2 separate regions of the Homo sapiens genome follow, and region 2 is linked to region 1. The links are contacts of gene promoters, found by promoter capture Hi-C in blood cells and fetal thymus (Javierre and others, 2016). All regions are on one chromosome and are shown on one strand. Each heading gives the region's core, a stretch centred on a gene start or on the middle of the fragment in contact. The rest is flanking DNA. Distances are from core to core; before and after follow the strand shown.

Region 1 (4,333 bases), core at 1,762-4,261:
TTAACCTGATCTTGAATATTTTTACTATCTTCTTCATTTAAGGACTTCACAAATCGAGAACACACATTCATATCAAATCGGTTAGGCAATATGAATTTCATTCCCATGGCAACACCCTGAGCTGACCCTTCTTCTGAATTTGGGTCCAGTGGATGTTCTATTTTAATGTCTGGCATGCCAGTTAGGCTATAAGTGCTGGGACACTCTTCCACGATAAGCTGGGCTCCAATATCCAGATTTGTTGATGTATCCATGATTTCAACTGTAGTTTCAATAACTAAAACATTTCTTCATGATTTCCTCTTGGTTTTGTAAGAGCAGTATCCAGTGTGTTCTTGGAATCTGGATATTTAAAAATCTGAAAGAAAAAATTAGAAAATTAAAAGTATTCTATCAGCTTAGGTAAAAACACACAAAATAATCATTTTCAATCAAGTATTGTAACAATGCTCTTGAAAGCACCTACACATAATAGAAAGAATATAATGTTCAGAGGTAGAGAAACCTGGGTATGAATCCAAACTTTGCCATTAATTAGCTGTGTGACCTGTAGAAGTTACTCAATCCCTCTGAGCTTCCGTGTCATTTATAAAATAGGGATATCACCATTAACCTTATAGGGTTCTGGTAAAGACCAAATGAAATACTGTACAGTGATATTCTCACCTCCATCATTAAATTCCAATACATTTTAGTTACTGTTTCTCCCATTTCCTATATCTGAATATCACCAAATGGATAAAAGATCAGGCTAACAATGAAAATAAACTTTAATCTCTTACCTAAGGTTAGTTCTTTAATATGCTATGTTTATATAGGTGGCCCTTAGTTTGAATTTAAGAAATGATAATTCATGTTGTATCCAAGTTTATTGGCATTGTCATCTATAACACCTGTGATTCCTAGACCATGAAAGGCTTTACAAAGCTTTGGTTTTGATGAACTGAAGGTACATTTATGAATTTTTGTTCCGATTAAGCATTAGCAACTTAATGTAGGTTTTCATGAAAAATAAAGTAGGTAGATTATGGATTGGCTTTCCAAGATGTATAGTTGTCTTAGATACATTATCATTTGGGACAGAAAGGAAATTAATAACATCCAGTTAATTTTTTCATGTTAGGGTTAATTGCCTCTTAGGAATTTTGAGAGGGTGCAGGGTGTTTCAAAATTGGAATTGGAATTAAAAGAAAAATGCATTAGGATCGCAGTGGAGCAAGGGTCGCGAAACCATACATTTACAGATAACCACCTTCTACAATTTTAAAAACATTTTCAAAGATTAGTCTTTATAACAATCCTTTGAGTAGGCAGGTCAGGTAATCATATGTCCACCTAGGAGGGGTAAAAAAGGAAGCTCATGAATTATGAGGGCTTACTCAGCTCTTCTGACTCCATCACTCTGACCATTAAAATGAGGCAGCCCTAAACAAAGCCAAAATCTCCACGAGAGAGTTGAATAAATAACACATAGTATAGTAAGGAAAAAAAAAAAAAGCAGGAAGTAAGAAGGTTAATACATTTGGGCAAAAAGAAGGAAACCAGAAAAGAAAATTAGTTCAGTGATTCAAAGGGAGATGGATGTGCAATGCATTAGTCCATGCGTCTTAAAAGGGACTGGACAATGTGAACTGTGTTTCCTGAGGGAAGAACCATCTCCCCCTTTCTCCTATCCAGCGGTTGGCTAAGTGCAACTCCCCTAAGCTCTCTGAGCACCCTGCATGTATCTGTATTTTAGCATTCACCATCCTTTTGACAATTTCCATTTAAATAACAGCTAAATTGAAAACTCCCCTAGGATGGGGACCACTCTTACTAATTTTTGCACACAGAACAGTACTTGGTCCTACCAGGTGCTCCATAAATGTTTTCTGATCTTAACTTTAACAATTTTTTCCATATTCTTTTCTATTTCTAACATTTGCTGATTAGACCTGGCTTTCCACTCCCAACATCGCTACTAACTAGCTGGCCACTCCTGGACAAATAAATAATACAAGTTTTCTGAAATTCATCTATTATAAAAAGGTGTTGAAATAGGCCTTTCTAATATTCTTTCCAGCTCTAAACAGCTTCCATGTTACAAATCAGGGTTTATAGATGGAATTACAGGTCTTCGAGAGGAGAATAGCAAATGTGCTTAGGCGAAGGGGGTGGGTGGAAAATGAACGCTTATCTTGGCACAGCAGTTTAACGAGAGGAGAAGCAAAGTTGATTGGTAGGCCAAAATTTTGAAGAACAGGAGAGGGAGGCGGGGGTGAGGGGAGTGGGGTAACAGGACTTAGAAGAGGTGGTGGTGAGAAAAAGGGGGTAAGGCAATCGATAGCTAGGTTCACCTCGATCTGTCAGAGCCCAGGGATGAAGGGATAGAGAGTCTACGGAGATAAAGTGGGCAGCTATGCTAGTTCCTGTGGATGCTAATAACAGGAGCCCCTCGTTTCTTCCTGATCCTGGAATTATTCTACAAGGAGAGGAAGGTGCTATGAAAATAAATGATGCCTCACAGGCGACAGGTGTCCCAGCGTCCCGAGACAGGAGCCCGCTGTCTCCCGCTGGAGGGGAGACTCTTGCAGGAAAGAAAGTCCGTTCTGTCGCCACCGGCCAGCTGTGCCCGAAAAGTCCCAGGAAGAAACTCTCGCTCATCCGCGGCGAGCGGATCCCGGGCACAGGGGCTGGAGGCCGACCCGGTGAGAGTGCAAGGTCTCGCGACCACCGACGACAGCAGACAGCGAGTCGGGCCTTCCCATCTGAGGCCAGCTTCAGTACAGGCCTCCAAGCCCGGGCTTGTTTTGGCCGCGACGTCACTTCCGATTTCTTCTTTCGCCTTCTGGCTAAAAAACGTTCCGCAGCAATGCAGCTGAAACTTTCGGGTTTTCTTTTTTTTGTCCCTCTCTCCTTTTTTTTAATATTTTTGTTTTTGCCGCCTTTACGCTCCGAGGCCCATCCTGCCGGAGTACTACACAGACAGGGTCATTTCAGTTGACGGTTCTGGGTCACCAGAGCAGAGGAAGCCCCAATTTCGCCCTCCGGTCACACCTCCTACTCCAGATCGCCCCGCCCACCTGACCCGCCTCTGCGCCGCCGGGCTGCGTGAGTCTCATGAGCGTGCTCTGGTACGTCATCTTCGCGCGACGTTCGGTTCGCTGTGTGTGTCGCCGGCTCCTTGAGGGTCCATGTGATTTTTACGCCAGTGCTGCTGAACTGTGCAGGGTAGGGAGCTGGCACAGTCCGATTAATTGTCCTTGGGTCGAGGTGTCTCGTCGGACCCTTTGGGGCTCAGTGGAGGTAGGTGAAGGCGGCTCCCATTGAGGGAAGCCCACACTCACACCCGGCCTTCCTGTGTTAATCTGGCATGCTCTTCTGGGGCTTCCCAGGCTATATAGGAGAGTGGCCAAATTCTTTAACCGGCTCAAGTTCCCCTCAATTAAGCTTCGACCTAGGTTCTTCTCTGCGATTACACCCTTTCCTGTCCACCGTTGTTAGTTCCCGGAGTAATCAGCAACTCTCCAAGGCAATGGACACATTTCCATCTTTGCCTTTGCTTACGAGGCTCCCTCAGGTGAAGTGAACCTAATGGAGTTTTAAAATATTTGGGAGATAAAATCAGCAGATCTTGTTAACTATTTGGATGTTAGGAGTGAGGAAGAAAAGGACACGTCAAGGCTGAGTCTAGGTTAATATCTGGTGCCAGTCACCAGCCAAAATGGAGTATATTGGAGTAAGCAAAGGCACAGACCATGTCTTTATTTCATTCACCATTATAGCCCCAGTGCCTAGAGCAGTGTCCTGCACATTGGTAGGTACTTTAATGAACAGAAGAGTGTTCCCAAAGACCAGTGAAATACAATCATTGGTCATTGTATTTCATTAAAGCACCTTTTAAATATATGTTACACCTATTTATCGTGGTGTTACTAATGTAAAGTTTTCAGGCTTTTTGGAATAGATGATGAGCAGCACCTCTGGAATCATTTACCTGATAACATTGAATCTCTTTTGCAATTGAGTCGTTCTGGAAAAATGTTTTGGCTTGATTGCATGTTATTTAAAAGTTTTATCCTATTCTGCCACTTTAGTGTTGAATTTAATTTCAGGACTGCTTTATTACAGTTTTCTTTCCTACTGTTTAAACCTTTTAAAGTAAATTTAATTTTAAGCTTCTACATTAGAATATTAGCTTTGTGTTTCTTACTTCTTGGCATTTTTAGGCTTTCAGGAAATCAAATCCGTAACTATAATTGTTATAGATTAAATGTCATCTTAAACTTGGTTTCAGGAAACTTGTATTTGCAGTTTCACCTTAATATTTCCTGTTGCCAAAAAATGGACACTC
Region 2 (3,900 bases), core at 236-2,735, about 11 Mb before region 1:
GCTACAGATGAAGCCAGTCTTTTAACAGTTTTTTAAGGACCTACATGATTACTTACATTAGATAGAAAACTCTAGGCACACATATATCCACATAAGCATTGATGTATATATCCAGTTTCCAATTTTAAAATTTTAAATTGTATATTTGTAGTTATTGTTACAGGGAGATTATCAATGACTAGGGAAGGCCGGGCGCAGTGGCTCATGCCTGTAATCTCAGCACTCTGGGTGGTGGAGGCGGGTGGATTACCTGAGGTCAGGAGTTTGAGACCAGCCTGGCCAACATGGTGAAACCCCGTCTCTACTAAAAATACAAAAATTAGCCAGGCGTGGTGGCGCGGGCCTGTAATCCCACCTACTCGGAAGGCTGAGGCGTGAGAATCGCTTGAACACAGGAGGCAGAGATTGCAGTGAGCGGAGATCGCGCCACTGCACTCCAGCCTGAGCGACAGAGCAAGACTCCCCCTCAAAAACAAACAAAACAAAACAACAACAACAAAAAACAATGACTAGGGAAAGTAGGCCATGAAAAGTGTTGTTTCCAACCTATCAATTGCCAGTACTACAAGCAGGAGTTAGACGTTTGGAGGTTTTCACACGGTGCTATAAATACAGTTTCCAGGGCCCCGGTACACGTGGCCTTCCTGCTCTGCCAGGATGGAGAGTCTTGCTTTCCACATTGCTGATGTGGTCAGACTAATTAAATTATTGCAAAAAGACACATTCCCTAGTCAACCTTATGTGTCTGCCTTCTTCCCTTGAGTCACAGTTGTTGGCTTTACAGGCCAAGGCAAGTAAGTCTTGAACCCTCAGCAGAAACAGGGCACCAGCATCGGATGCCTCATAACCTGAACAGTTAAGGACGCCCCACCACAGAGCTTCTTTCTGAGTGTGATAAACTATAAGGCAAGACTGTAAAGGGGTGGATCTTCATTTCGATTTAGGGTAGGTGACACCTCAAGGGTGTTTCTTCCCTTCCAGCGTAACTGGATGGGAAACCTACACCAAGTGTGCTTGGGAGGGCTGCTTGGGTCAGCTACCTGTAAGTGGAAATAGGGGGTGCCACCTTCCGATGAAAACCCGGATCCCGTACTGTCAACGGAGGGCCCTTGAATTCACATCCCTCAGCCCGCTAGAAAGCCCCTGAAACCACGTGGCCTTTAACCCATTCCGGCAACAGCGCCAATTCCCGGAAGCGAGAGGGCAAGAAAGCTCGGCGCGACGCTTCCCGCGTCTTCTAGGCCGCGCGCTGAAATCAAACGCGACGCCGGCTAGCTGTGGGCCGGGCCGAGCGCTCAACGCTCCAGCGGCTGGGTAAGCCGCGGCCGCCGCCCACCCCGCTGCAGAGCTGGGCGGGGCCGCCTGGAGGCAGCGGGGAGAGGCCAGCCGAAAAGGAAGAAGAGACGCCGGAGGCGCGCTCTGCGCAGGCGCGCGGCGCCCCGCCTCCCCAGCGTCGGCTCCCCGGCGGGCGGTGCGGGCCCTCCCACTCTACCCCGCGCCGTCTCACGGCCCCGGCCCTAGCTTCACCCCGACTACCCGGCGTGCGCGTCCTCCTGCCGGCCTGCAGGCCCGGGGCCTCCGCCTGCTTCCCCACAGCTGCTCCTTGCGGCCCCGCTTGCGTTCACGCTGTCGCCCGGGCCGGCGCGGCCGCGGGCAACCGCTCCCCCTCCCACACCTACCCCGCCCCCTCCCCGCCTTTTCCGCCCTCCGGTCCCCCTCCCTCGGCCCGCTGCTGCTGCTCCAGATGAGGTGATGGCAACGGCCAACTTCGGCAAGATCCAGATCGGGATTTACGTGGAGATCAAGCGCAGCGATGGTGAGCCGCGCTGCCAGCCCCGCTGGCCCGCTCGGCCCCGTGTTCGGGTGTGCACGGAGGGGACGCGGGCGCCGGCCGCCTCATTGATTGCTTCGCCGGGCTGTGGGGGTGGGAAGGCGGCGGCCGCGGCGCTTTTGTGTGTGGCGTGTGTGCCAGTGAGGCCGGCTTGGGGTCCGCCCGGGCGCTGCTGCAGTTCTCCGGATCGGGCCGCGGGGGAGGGAAGCCGGGTGGGGAAAGGGCCCGGGTGTCGAGGGTCGCGTCTCCGGGGGTCTCTGGGCGAGGGCCGCTCGCTCCTCCTCCCGCAATCTCCAGCCCCCCCCCGGGGACACCAGCCCGGGAGGGAGCGGGCTTCGTTAGGGATGACCCTGCCTCGCGCTTCCCCTTGGTCTTTGCATTTTACCGGCTTGGCCTCTGACGGGGATGGGGATGGGGGTGGGGGAGCGGGAAGACCAGCGATTTCACATTTAGAGAACCGACTGCTGGTCGGAGGCCGAGATGGGGGGAAAGAGCCAGTTCCGTCGCCTTAAACTGCCGTCTGGTTGTCAGGCCTCCCCGGTTTCGTCGTCGACCATGCTGCTTTCTTTTTTGCCACTTCTTGGGAGAAAAATGTGGAGAATATCGCGCTGAGCCATGAATAAGGGTGGGGGAGCAATGGGAAGAAATATTCGATGGGCTTCTCCAAGGTGATGAGACTGTAAAGGGAATGATAGGGGATGGGCAGAGTCAATGCGAGGCACTGCTGAGAGAGTGGGGGTGGGCGACCGGATGTTGATATTTTCACACCCTCGGGAGAGGTAACTGAGAAAAGTGTAAGGCGAGGTGAAGACACATGCTTCATTTTTTTTTTTAAGAGCCTTAGGCTTATGTATCTTTCTCTAGGTTTCTCTTGGGGAAAATGGTTTATGACACTAGCTTGGGGTGTGGAGTGAGATACGCCAGCCAGACTGGAAATAATTCATATTGTAAAGGAATAAATGCACGGAGGGAGATAAGTAAAATTATTTTCTTTCGGTACCAATATTGAAAGAACGAGAGATGTGTGATAATCTCGAGTTGAGCAGTGTTCCTGACTCCATCTCTCATACCGATTCCTTTTTTTTTTTTTTTGAGACGGATTTTCACCCAGGCTGGAGTGCAGTGGTGCGATCTCGGCCCACTGCAACCTCCGCCTCCCGTGTTGAAGCTATTCTTGTGCCTCAGCCTCCTGAGTAGCTGGGATTACAGGCGTTGTCACCACACCCAGCTAATTTTTTGTATTTTTAGTAGAGACGGGGTTTCACCATGTTGACAAGGCTGGTCTCGAACTCCTGACCTCAAGTGATCCACCTGCCTCGGCCTCCCAATGTGCTGGGATTACAGGCGTGAGCCATCGCGCCTGGCCTCGATTCCTTTTATGAGTGCCTTATTTATTAACCTTTAGCCTAGCCTAGTCAGTAGTAACTTGGCTGTCACGTCCACGTGCCCCTTGGATTCTGCCAGGTTTGACCAAGTTACGTGAAGCTAGATTGATTTTCATGTTGTGTGTATGATATATTGGAAGACCCTATATAGCTAATGATTTTTTCCTCCGTTATATTTGAAGTAATTTGTGGTAACAACTGAAACCATCGTTATCCTGTATATGAAAAGATAAATTATACCGCTTAGAGCTTTAGAAATTACCAATAACACTAATGGGAAAGAGATACCTTCTTTACTTGGGTTGAGGTTTCTTTTATATTTTCTCTTCAGATTACTTTCTTGAAAGAGTGCTGTTAATGTCATTTTTTTAGGTAAATACGAGTTCACAGTATACCAGCAAAAGTAGGATTTACATATTATTTTGAAGATTCTGGGTGCACAGCAACACCTGTCCCTGGTATACACCCAAGGGAGAGGAAATCACCACCTTGTGAAGATATCTGCACTCTCGCGTTCATTGCAGCATTATTCACAGTAGCCAAGATAGGGAAGCAACCTAAATGTCCATCGATGGGTGAGGAATGGCTAAAGAAATTATGTGTGTGTGTATACGTTTATGTGTGTGTATAGACAATGTACAATGGAACATTATTCAGCCTTAAAAAAGGAGATCCTACTGTTTA

Evidence for each region. Contacts are between HindIII fragments. The CHiCAGO score rates a contact against its expected background, and 5 or more counts as called.
Region 2: a contact is called between the fragment with the promoter of KIF2A here and the fragment with the promoter of ANKRA2 in region 1, in 1 of 17 cell types (total CD4 T cells). The highest score is 6.8, in total CD4 T cells.

Annotation. Positions count from the first base shown.
Region 1 is chr5:73,562,628-73,566,960 of GRCh38, forward strand. It overlaps ANKRA2 (ankyrin repeat family A member 2), which reads right to left and starts at 3,012. Exons shown (of 9, transcript NM_023039.5): 1 at 2,505-3,012; 2 at 1-358. The coding sequence starts at 254. UTP15 (UTP15 small subunit processome component) reads left to right here and starts at 3,116. Exons shown (of 13, transcript NM_032175.4): 1 at 3,116-3,285. RefSeq lists enhancers at 2,272-2,826, 2,406-2,455, 2,476-2,685, 2,696-3,255, 2,827-3,381. The HindIII fragment of the contact is 2,502 bases long and covers 926-3,427 here.
Region 2 is chr5:62,304,721-62,308,620 of GRCh38, forward strand. KIF2A (kinesin family member 2A) reads left to right here and starts at 1,486. Exons shown (of 21, transcript NM_001098511.3): 1 at 1,486-1,816. The coding sequence starts at 1,753. RefSeq lists a silencer at 1,190-2,219. The HindIII fragment of the contact is 9,341 bases long and covers 1-3,900 here.